Regions from separate parts of the Homo sapiens genome. Here all the other regions are linked to region 2. Evidence: promoter capture Hi-C in 16 types of primary human blood cells and fetal thymus (Javierre and others, 2016). All regions are on one chromosome and are shown on one strand. Each heading gives the region's core, a stretch centred on a gene start or on the middle of the fragment in contact. The rest is flanking DNA. Distances are from core to core; before and after follow the strand shown. Region 1 overlaps GRM1 (glutamate metabotropic receptor 1). Region 2 holds the start of ADGB (androglobin). Region 3 overlaps GRM1 (glutamate metabotropic receptor 1).

Evidence for each region. Contacts are between HindIII fragments. The CHiCAGO score rates a contact against its expected background, and 5 or more counts as called.
Region 1: a contact is called between a fragment that was not itself captured here and the fragment with the promoter of ADGB in region 2, in 1 of 17 cell types (M0 macrophages). The highest score is 5.5, in M0 macrophages.
Region 3: a fragment that was not itself captured here is called in contact with the fragment with the promoter of ADGB in region 2 in 1 of 17 cell types (M0 macrophages); the score reaches 7.3 in M0 macrophages.

The regions. Positions count from the first base shown.
Region 1 is chr6:146,336,195-146,339,682 of GRCh38, reverse strand. All of the region lies in intron 3 of GRM1 (glutamate metabotropic receptor 1), which reads right to left. Among named protein-coding and RNA genes, the nearest start is that of RAB32, 210 kb to the left of the region's middle. The HindIII fragment of the contact is 5,315 bases long and covers 1-3,488 here.
Region 2 is chr6:146,596,936-146,600,301 of GRCh38, reverse strand. It overlaps ADGB (androglobin), which reads right to left and starts at 1,330. Exons shown (of 36, transcript NM_024694.4): 1 at 1,188-1,330. The coding sequence starts at 1,261. It overlaps ADGB-DT (ADGB divergent transcript), which reads left to right and starts at 1,371. Exons shown (of 3, transcript NR_125860.1): 1 at 1,371-1,469; 2 at 2,131-2,232. RefSeq lists a silencer at 1,235-1,529. The HindIII fragment of the contact is 3,644 bases long and covers 1-3,366 here.
Region 3 is chr6:146,308,585-146,311,947 of GRCh38, reverse strand. The region is part of intron 3 of GRM1 (glutamate metabotropic receptor 1); the gene reads right to left. Among named protein-coding and RNA genes, the nearest start is that of RAB32, 230 kb to the left of the region's middle. The HindIII fragment of the contact is 1,296 bases long and covers 1,228-2,523 here.

The sequences.
Region 1 (3,488 bases), core at 938-3,437, 260 kb after region 2:
ATAAGTTATTTAGACAATTGTCTTTCATATTATCTCAATTATTCTTATAGTGAATGACTGATAACTCAGCAATAGGATGATGATCTAACTGAAGCATGATTATTATTGATGGTGACTACAATACATTTAAGAATATTCAAAAGAAAACCTGATATGATGACTATAAGCTATCACTCAAGATTATTGAATAAAAGCTGTAATATAAATGAGGTGTCTATTTAGTATATTAGTCAAATTCAGAGCTCTTAATGTCTGTGGAAATAAAATGAGTGTGTATAAATGGAAAAAATGAAAGGGAAAAGTTCAGATTATTATTTTAGTCTGAAACTATGAGATGTTCTTCAAGTCCCTTAAACATAGAGCAAAAATTATGTTCCATGTTAAGGTTGTGAATTGAGTTTGGGTGGAAGGGAATTGTTGAATGCTCATGTCCATTCAGTTATTTGATGGGATGAAAATGTCAGCACCTGATATAATAGGAATTTTTACTTGCTTCTAGAATAAAATTAAAATGAGAATGCCAGTTCATTCTTTGAAGTTATTCAAGAGAACAAGAATTTAATACCACAGTGATTGCATTTCCATTTGGAAAATTGCCTACTTAGCTGTTCATGGAGTATGTTTCATATGTCTAACTCTGTGCTGTTTGTATAGAATACAGTCAAACTTTGTGGGTCCAACTATAAGGACAAGGATTTAAGAAATGCTGCAGTCACTGTGGCATCCCAGGGAAGATTTATGGAGGAGGCTGGGCATAAGATGGCTATTAAGCAAGAATAAGACACAGAGTAGAGAAGAGAAGAAGGAGGAAGGGGCTGCTAAGTAGCATTGGTATTGATAGTGGTGCAAACAGAGAGGAGATACCGAGTGTGGAGGGGGCAGGGCAGATCCAAGCCTTTATGAACTTGGTTAATAAAGAGCTACTCTGGGCTTCTATAACTTGTACCCCCATAACATTCCACTGCAGGAAGCCAGGGAATAATAACAGATATTTATTGAACTTTAACAAATCAGAGGGCTTTAGATTTGAAGCAATAAGTCAAAGGGAGCTCCTATAGACGTTTAGCATAGACAGGCTCAGTGGACTATCATTTCTTTGAAGGCCTTATCTGCTAGATGGTGTTCAGTCCACAGTGACTATTTTAAACATACATAAGCTCATGAGTCCTACTCTAAGCCATAGACATGCAAGAGGCCCTGAGAAGGATGTGTGAACTGTGGAGGCAAAGAAAGCAAAGTTAACACTCTCTTTTTAGCTGGGGCTTGGGCCCCAAACCAAATTCAGAATTCAAACGGGATAAGATAGACCACATAGAGGACTTGTTGGGGCTGAGCTTGTTAGATGCAAGTAACTTCAACCCTGCTCTGTCTTTTCCATGCCAGTCTTAGGAACCTTTGAGCCTGGATTATATCACCATTGAAAAAGCCGATTCATAGCATACCTGCCATAGCCCAGTAAAATGGAGCCATTATAATTCGTGGTAAAAATATATTAGCATTTATCTAATATTTGACCTGTTGGAGATTAGGAATATAGGAAGTTTTTATTTTTCCTGTTTGCACACAAATATTTCTAGCATTGCATAACGTGATCATTTCCTTGGTATGAATCATTTGCAGTAAAATTGTTCGATTAAGACGTTTCTTTAGACTCTTGATCCATATTGGAAAATTTCCCCCCAGGAAAAATCATAGCATGTATTTTACCATCAGCTGCATATCTGAGCACCCATTTTACCACATCCTGACCAGCAGTAGATACTATCATTTTGTATAATATATGCCAGTTTGACAAGTGCAAAATTATTCTTTTTGTTTTCTTTAGTTACTAGGGGAAGTAAATCATTTTCTTTTGGGGGAATTGTGTATTCCTGTTTGTGGCCTCATTATTTTAAAATTATAATGATAACATTTATTATAGTATTTTCAAGTCGTTATAATTTTTTCACTTTTGTTAATTTCCTGTAAATAAACACAAAATTTGAGTCTGATTCACCAAGTACATCATTGTGCTGTATCTTTAGAAGAGAGATTTCCTGGCAGGGAAGAAGCTGGAAGCAGCGCTTTTTGAATTTCTGCCACAGCACACAGACCCTGAATTTCATGAGAAGGCCAAGTCGTGTGCAGGCAGCAATCCCAGAGACTAGGAAGCTGGCTTAATATCCCTATCCCTTACTTTCCATATATAGTTTAGTTCCTTTGTTTACTCTGTCCAAAGAACGTTTTAGGAATATATCCCCCAAGTGATTTGATTGAAACATTTAATTTCATTATTAGTTGGCCAAATATGTAAAAGCATTTGATAGCCTCTTGTGATTTTCCAATTTTTTAAAAAATTAAAAGTGGAAAAGTATTACAAAGAAACAGGCACAGAGAAGTAAAAGCATTCCTGAATTTATATGGATTATCACCAGGCAGAACCTGGGACATGAGAGAGACTGGGAGAGGCTGGGTCTGGGCAGTGGGCTGCCAGGTTCTGCTTCAGAAGTGTAGTCCTGAGGCAGACACTTGCCCAAGGAGTACTGCCTGGACTGCTGTACCGCACATCTCCACATCTCCAGAGGTCACCATCACCATCCACAGAAAACATGATGATAATGGTGCCCTTGGAGTTCTGTGGTGTGGAAGCCCTTCCTGAAACCAGGAAGAGGGACAGGCAAATAAGTTCAGCAAGAAAGCGAAAAACCAGGTTGGGACCTTGGAAACAGGAAGTAAAGGAAGAGTCATGCAGACACAAACACCTGAGGGTACCCAGAGTGGGCAACCTTTCAATGGCAGGCCCCAGGGCAGGACATCACTCTTTAGGAAAAGCATTATTCAGAACAAGTTTTTAATTAGTTGTGGTATCATAGAAGCTACCAAGACAGGGACTCAGGCACAAAAATATACAGAGTCGGGTACTGGAACTGGGTTCAAGATGGGACTGTGTCTTGGCATCAAATCAGAAGAGTTGCCAATACTGGAGAAAGGGAAAAGCCAGGAGGTCAAGGCGAGGAGCAAAGGTAACTCTTGTTGAGTGGAGAGATGTAGCCAATACTTTTGGTGACCAGCCTAGACCACCTTTTCAACTAGAACACTCACAGCACAGCTGATGGAGTGTTGCTAAAATCAACCCACAGCTGCCATCTTCTGTGAGGAATTGCTCTCAGGCGAACAGGAAATGCCTCATCAGGAAGACTCTGTTCCCCCATCGTTTGCTGTATGCCAGAACTCAACCAATGATGGATAGTGGAGTTCAAAAGCCTGGACCCCTTGCTAACTCTCAGTCAATCTGTGTTTCAGAGGATTTCCTGGAATCAGATTGCAGCTTCTCTCCAGCTGAGACATTACTTAACTTACTCCCCAGTCTTAGCTTACTTCCTCTCCTCTTGACAGCACGCCTCAACAAATCATTAGCAAAGGAATCTCTGCCTCTGGCTCTGCTTCTTGAGAACTCAATTTAAGAAAGAATGGATGGCCTAGATTCTACTACACCATAATGCTCAGGC
Region 2 (3,366 bases), core at 81-2,580:
AAAAGACCTGACTTTGGTACACAGAAGTAAAGCAATCCTATTAAAATTACATATGTAATATTTATATAAAATTATATATGTAATATTACTTATATATGTAATATCTAAAATTTAAGCTAGTAAAAGGAATGGATTATCTGCCGGGTAACTGGAAACCTGCTTATGAGAGAGGTTAGAACTAAGGGACTAGAGATTCACAGACATGGGAATGAGTCTGGGAGAAGAATTCACAAAGAAAAAGAGTTTAAATCCTAGGGATCAGTGAATCATAGGGATCAGTCCAATGTGGAATTCTTCAGCCAGGGAAGGAAATGGAGAAACAGGCATCAAGGATGTAAGAATTCAATTTGAAATGATTGATTGCATCGCCCTCCCCATCAGGCAGAGCATGAAGAACATGAATGATCCCACTGAAGCAGGGCGGGCAGCTGGGATTCTCTCACAGTGGGAATGAACATTAGAAATGGTGTAAGTTCAAACAGCCCCAATCCTATGCTGTGGATAACTGGATATCCCTAGGGAAACAGACCACAGAAAATAATAATCATGGGGAAGTACATCCTAAGACACAACACCTAACACCAGCCCAGGACAAAGGCACCATAAAAATTCCATGAGCGAGGGTCTGTTTACTTTCTCAGAGTAAATGTTAGTAACATGAACTATACATTTATAATGTTTTAAGGTTTAGAAGCCACTTTACGTCTGACTATATCTGATTAAAGATCGTAGTCGTTGGACTGGGCAGATGCAAACTAGAAAATCACCATTAAGGTGAAATGTGTCCATGTCTGTCTGTCACTCGCTGTCTGTATCATTTCCGGGGCCATGAAGATGTGGCTTTAACCAGAAGTATTTGAGATATGCCTCTTTCTTAGGAAAGCTATGGCCTTTCTAACTGCCTGAGAGGGCTATGAAGAAGAGGAGGGGTGGCAGATTCACCCATGGGAGCTGAACACCCAAAGCAAGAAAATCAGGGGCTCTGGGAAAGGAAGTGAGTCAAGACAAGCAAGAGAGAAGGATGAGAGCGAGCACCTCCAGGATCTGGTTTACCAGAGAAGACAAGCTGCGAGGAGGCCACTAAACTTCTGCCCTGGCACAGTTTGCTGCAGGGAGGCAGCCCCAGAACTAGTGGTGAGGTCGAGGGGCTAGGCCAGGGGAGGGACGGACAGGCAGAGGTCCCTTACTCTTTCGATTTATCCGATCCGTGCGCCGAGTTGATACGATGCACCTCTTTCTTTTTGGTTTGTTTGGAGGCCATGGCAGAAGCCGATCTATGTAGGGCTGAGCTCTGAGCAAAGAGCCTGCGGGCGCGCTCGGCTCCGCGTCTGCGTTGCCAGGAGACGGCGTCCCGCGTCCAGCGCCCGGAGAGCGGGGGCGGGGCCCTGGGGGCGGGCTCTGCGGCCTGTGGCTGCAGAGGGACGCAAGAGCATAAACTGAAATCCCACATCCCCGTGGAGGAACTTGGAGTTGGTGTCTGGGGAGAAATCGAGGTTCTGGGGCACGGGTTTGGCATTAGGATTACTGGGCAGCCCTGATTAATTGGAGTTCTGCAGGACCTACACTGCCTGGCTTTGCCCTTCGGAACCATAGACATATATCGACTCTTGAATATCCAACTATTTGAACGTAGATGTTATCCTAGTACCACCCCAGTTATTCTCTTGGCTAAATATAACAAGTACCTTCAATAATTACTAAGGAGACATTACAGACACGCTGAAATTGTCAATGGCTTGAAAACCTGGGGTCCAGAAATTAACACAGTGGGTGTAAGGAAGGCAAAATAATGACACCTTGAGTCGCTGAGGGCTAGGTGATGATATCTGTAATAAAACCAATAAGGTGTCTTGTTGTTCGAATGAAAGAGTGAGTCCAAGTCATGGGCTCAGGTGGTCCTTTGCAGACTTTCCAGAAAAGGTCCAGGGGCCAGATGACACAGACAGAACCAAGTAAAATGAAACTTATTAGGGCGCAGGCTTAAGGCTCAGTCATCAGTGGTGATTTGTTAGTTATCTTGCCTTGGGCTAGTTTTTCCCTTTGAGTCTCAGTTTACTCACTTATAAATAGGAGATGCCTATTACTCACTTATAAATAGGAGTTATACCTAACTCACAGTTCTGTTTTGAGGATAAGATGCAAAGCGCAGCAAATAGGAGCCACTCTTTCAGAGATGACAGACCACCTGGTTTCGAGGAGCAGCAGACAGCGTGAATGAATGAAGTTGGCCAGGTAAATACAGAGTAGTGGATACTATGCTTAACTGAGACATGCTTAGACTGCAAGAGCTTGCAAATTTATCAAAACAAAACAAAATATTGTGTTGGTTCAATATAACCTCACTTCAGAGATATCTGACACACAGCCCTTAGGCCTAGGACCACTACTACTGGTTGGTGTCTTTCATGAGCCTAGAAATAGTTAAGTATCTTTAAATAAAAGAAATCCCCTCCACTCATGGGACTGGGCACATGCTCACAGTTCCACCTGTGCAGGCAAGAGGCAGCTTCCTGCAGAGAAAATCTTTCAACTTCTCTGACAAATGAATGCTCAGGGCTCTCCACTCAGCATAGCCTATGGTTTGTCAGACTATCCCAATCTTATTACTATTGGATTACTACTGGGGGTTACCTAGATGACAGACAGCCCCTTCGTTGTATTTCTATATGCAAAATAAATAAATTCCAAGTCAGCAGTGTTAATATTATGACTACAAGACTGCCCTGCAAACATCTCCTATATATGTAAAGACAATGAACACATCATGAAGATTCTGCTTTGTTTATACCATAATTCAAATTTCCAGAGAACTCTCTTGAATGAAAGTAGAGGACTAAATGGTGAGAAAAATTATTTACTACCAAATTTTGTCAGAGTAATCAAATTTATAGCTATAAGTATATACAAAGACTCTTGGCTGAAAACAGCACAACTTTAAGCAGCCAACCCCACAGAGAGGTGAGTTTCTTCTTGAACAAGGGCTATCCTGCAGCCATTGTTAATGGCTGCAAGATGCCAAAAGAATTAGGGAAGATAAGCCTTAGAAATCAAAAGATCTACATCCCACCGGTATTTTATGGACAAATAACTCCAGGCGAAGACAAGCAAAATGTCTTGCCAAAAGTTGCTGGGTTATTTATTGATGGAATTTGGACTAAACACATTAAAGTCAGCATTGCCAGTTTAAGCCAAACATATCACTACTCCACTCAGAGCTTGCTTTTTAAACATCTATTAAATTAGGATAAAGTAAGGGGGTTGTCACCAGAATGGAATAAGATAATCATAAAAGATGTGACGAGTATAAGTTGCCTATTAATTCCTACGCCAGTGTTCTTTCTCCTTTATTATATTAAGAGTGCAACA
Region 3 (3,363 bases), core at 626-3,125, 290 kb after region 2:
CTCAATCATATGTAATGAAAATGAGGTTACTAAAAGTATAAATTTCAATCACCTAATAAATAAGGTTCCAGAAAATAGAGCAGGAAAAATCATATGATCAATCAAAACAGCACATTAACAAAGTATTGTTACCTATCATGCTATGTAAAACTACGAAACCAAAAGTATTTTTTTTCACAATTTGTAAGTTCATGCTGTTACTCATGTATCACTGTTACTATTATGTTTATAAGAAATAAACTATTTTAAACAGAAAAATGTATATTCTAGTACCTGTATTGATACATGAACTGTGGCTAGTGAAACTGAGGAACTGAAGGTTTCATTTCACGTGATTTTCACTGATTTAAATTTAAATACAAATAGACACATGTGGCTAGTGGCTAACACATTTGGCAGTGCCAATCAAAAGTGTTAATAAGAGATAGGTAGGCCAATATTGTGCCTATTGAATAGTTACTCTCAGAGCTTCATCTGTGTGATAATCAGATTTGTCTGAGAAATTATAAGGTCCAGATGAGACACACAGTCAGTTCACTTTCATTCTTCCAACTAAGATATATAAACACTTCTAAGACTTGTAAAACCTATTCCCATAAAGCAACTTATAACAGCACTGTATGAGAACATATGACTGTTTTATTTTGAGAGTATTTGTTTGACTAAGCTATAACTGTACCTCATTTTTTCAGCACTTCCTGTATGCACAGCAGATTTCCTAAGTGGAATAGTTTAACTGCCTAGGATCAAGGGGGCTTTAAAATTCTTTTGATTGCAGGATCTATAAAACTTTTTGGCTTTGCTCGACGAGATCCTGGGTGCAATATTGCACCATTCTTCTTATGATGGGAAAAGACTGAGCATTCTACTATTGGGTTGAGGAATTATGTCCCATAATTTAATTAAACCAACTATTGCTCCATGGATTACAAAGCTATGAATACCTTTATCAGTTATCAATTGCCCCAAAAAAGCCGCATAACAAACCATCCCAGGGCTTAGTGGTTTAAAACAATAATAATTTATTTAGTTCATGAATCTAGGAGTCAACTAGGAAGTTCTGCTGCTCTGAGTTGGACATAACTCATCTCAGCTTGGCTCACTCAGGCGTCAACTGTCAGGTGGTGGGTTGGCCAGGGACTGGCTGATCTAGGACATTCTCAACTGAGAGGTCATCCTGTTTCTGATCCATGTTATTTCTCATCTTCTACCAGATAAATTCAAGCTTATTCATATGGCTAAGGTAAGGTTCCAGGAAAGAAAATGAGAGTAGGTCAAGTCTCTTAAGGCCTAAACTTAGAGTTAATAAATGGTAAGGTCAATTCAGATTCAACAGGTAGGGAACAAAACTCTACCTCTCGAGGAGAGATGCTACAAAGCCATATTTCAAAGAGCATGGATACAAAAAGGGGTGAAGAAATGTAATGTCTTCCACAAACCCCAACTAATAATACCAACTTCTGGGTTGAAAGCAAATGATATTCTTCAGGAGTGCATATTGACATTTGGGTCAAACTTCCCAAGATAAAGAGAAGTTATTACCAAAGGACCTAATGGGCTGAAGTAAACTGGAACCCATCTCAGTTTATGGAACATCTTAATCTGGATCAAACTCTAATGGACTGATCTTATCTGGCCTTATAAAATAAGTTAATTCCAAGTGGAGTCCATAAAATTTGAAACCTAATAAGGCAAATATATTATGAAAATTAGTATCAGTCTAAAATTGTGAATGGCAGCCTCCAAACTATTGGAGTAAGAGTCCCCTTGCTTCAAAGTCTTAAAATGTTTTCACTAGACTAGCTATCATCATCTTACCAGTCCTGAGCTGTTGGTGAGAATTAGATACCAGCCAGATTCTTTCATTATGTCTTCTAAAATAGCCAAATGTAATATAGACTAATTTTAAAAGTCATTGTGTCCATCTGTTCTCAATTGGTACAAAGAATATGGAGAGAAAATAAAATAATGGCTATAACTTCACTGAGGTGTGAAAAAGGCTGATAAGGACAGAATAAACCCCATGAACTCATACAGTTAATATACTGCTAGCCGGAGCAAATATTAAGTATGCAAATATTGCCATATTGCAAGAAAATGCAGTTTATATTTTTAAGGGACCCCAAATTTATCAAGTTATTACTAATAATTATATTTAGGAATCTACTGTAAAGGAACAATCCCAAAACAGTAACAACAACTGTGAAAAATCTGTGTATCATATTCAGTGCTTTTTTTTTTATGTAAGAAGGAAAATTAAAAGTCGTCTAAATGACTGACAACATAAGAATGGCCAGTAGTTATAGTATTTTAACTGGTTAGAATATTATGGAGCTTTTAAAATGGTGGTTATAAAGACCATGAAGCAACATCAAAACTATGTAAAATATAATCCTGAGTGAAATAAGATAGAGAATTGTATGCACACTGTGATGATAATTATGCAAAATAAAATGAAAAGAATGCATAGAGTTTCAAGCAGCGTTAGTAGGAGCTGCCTTTTGGAACTCCTTTTCAAAAGCTTAAAAATGTTCTGTTTTTTTTTTTTTGAGACAGAGTCTCGCTCTGTCACTCAGGCTAGAGTGCAGTGGCGCGATCTCGGCTCACTGCAACCTCTGCCTCCCAGGCTCAAGCGATTCTCCTGCCTCAGCCTCCCGAGTAGCTAGGATTATAGGCACCCGCCACCAAGCCCAACTAATTTTTGTATTTTTAGTAGAGATGGGGCTTCACCATGTTGGCCAGGCTGGTCTCGAACTCCTGACCTCAAGCCATCTGCCCACCTTAGCCTCCCAAAGCACTGAGATTACAGGCATGAGCCACCATGCCCAGCCAGAAATGTTTATATCTCTTGATTAAACTTCTAGAAATTTAACTTCTAGAAATACAACTTAAGAAAATTATCCAAATGTAAAAAAAGAAAGTTTAGAATGAAAATTTTTTTATTATATCACTGCAACATTTTTGAAAATTGTGAATAAGCAAAAACAGCCTAAATAGAAAGAATGAAATGCCTAAATTATAGCTTATGTGAATGCAAAATGTTAAGCAGCCATTAAGAATAAAAGAATTTAACGACAAAGACAAATGTATCAATGTATAAAACATTTCTTTTAATACAGCAATATATAAAATAATATTAATACATAATTTAAAACTATATAGAGAAAGATGAAAACATGCCAAAATTTTAACAGTGACTAATGATGTTTAGATAAGAGCAAATTCTTAATTCTCTTCAGCTTTCTAATGCTTCTGTATATTTCCAAGTGCATGCAATAGCATATTAAGCACGTATTACTTTCATCATCAGAAAAAAATTATAAAAGACTGCATGGGAAAATATAAGAGAAAATATCTATATTG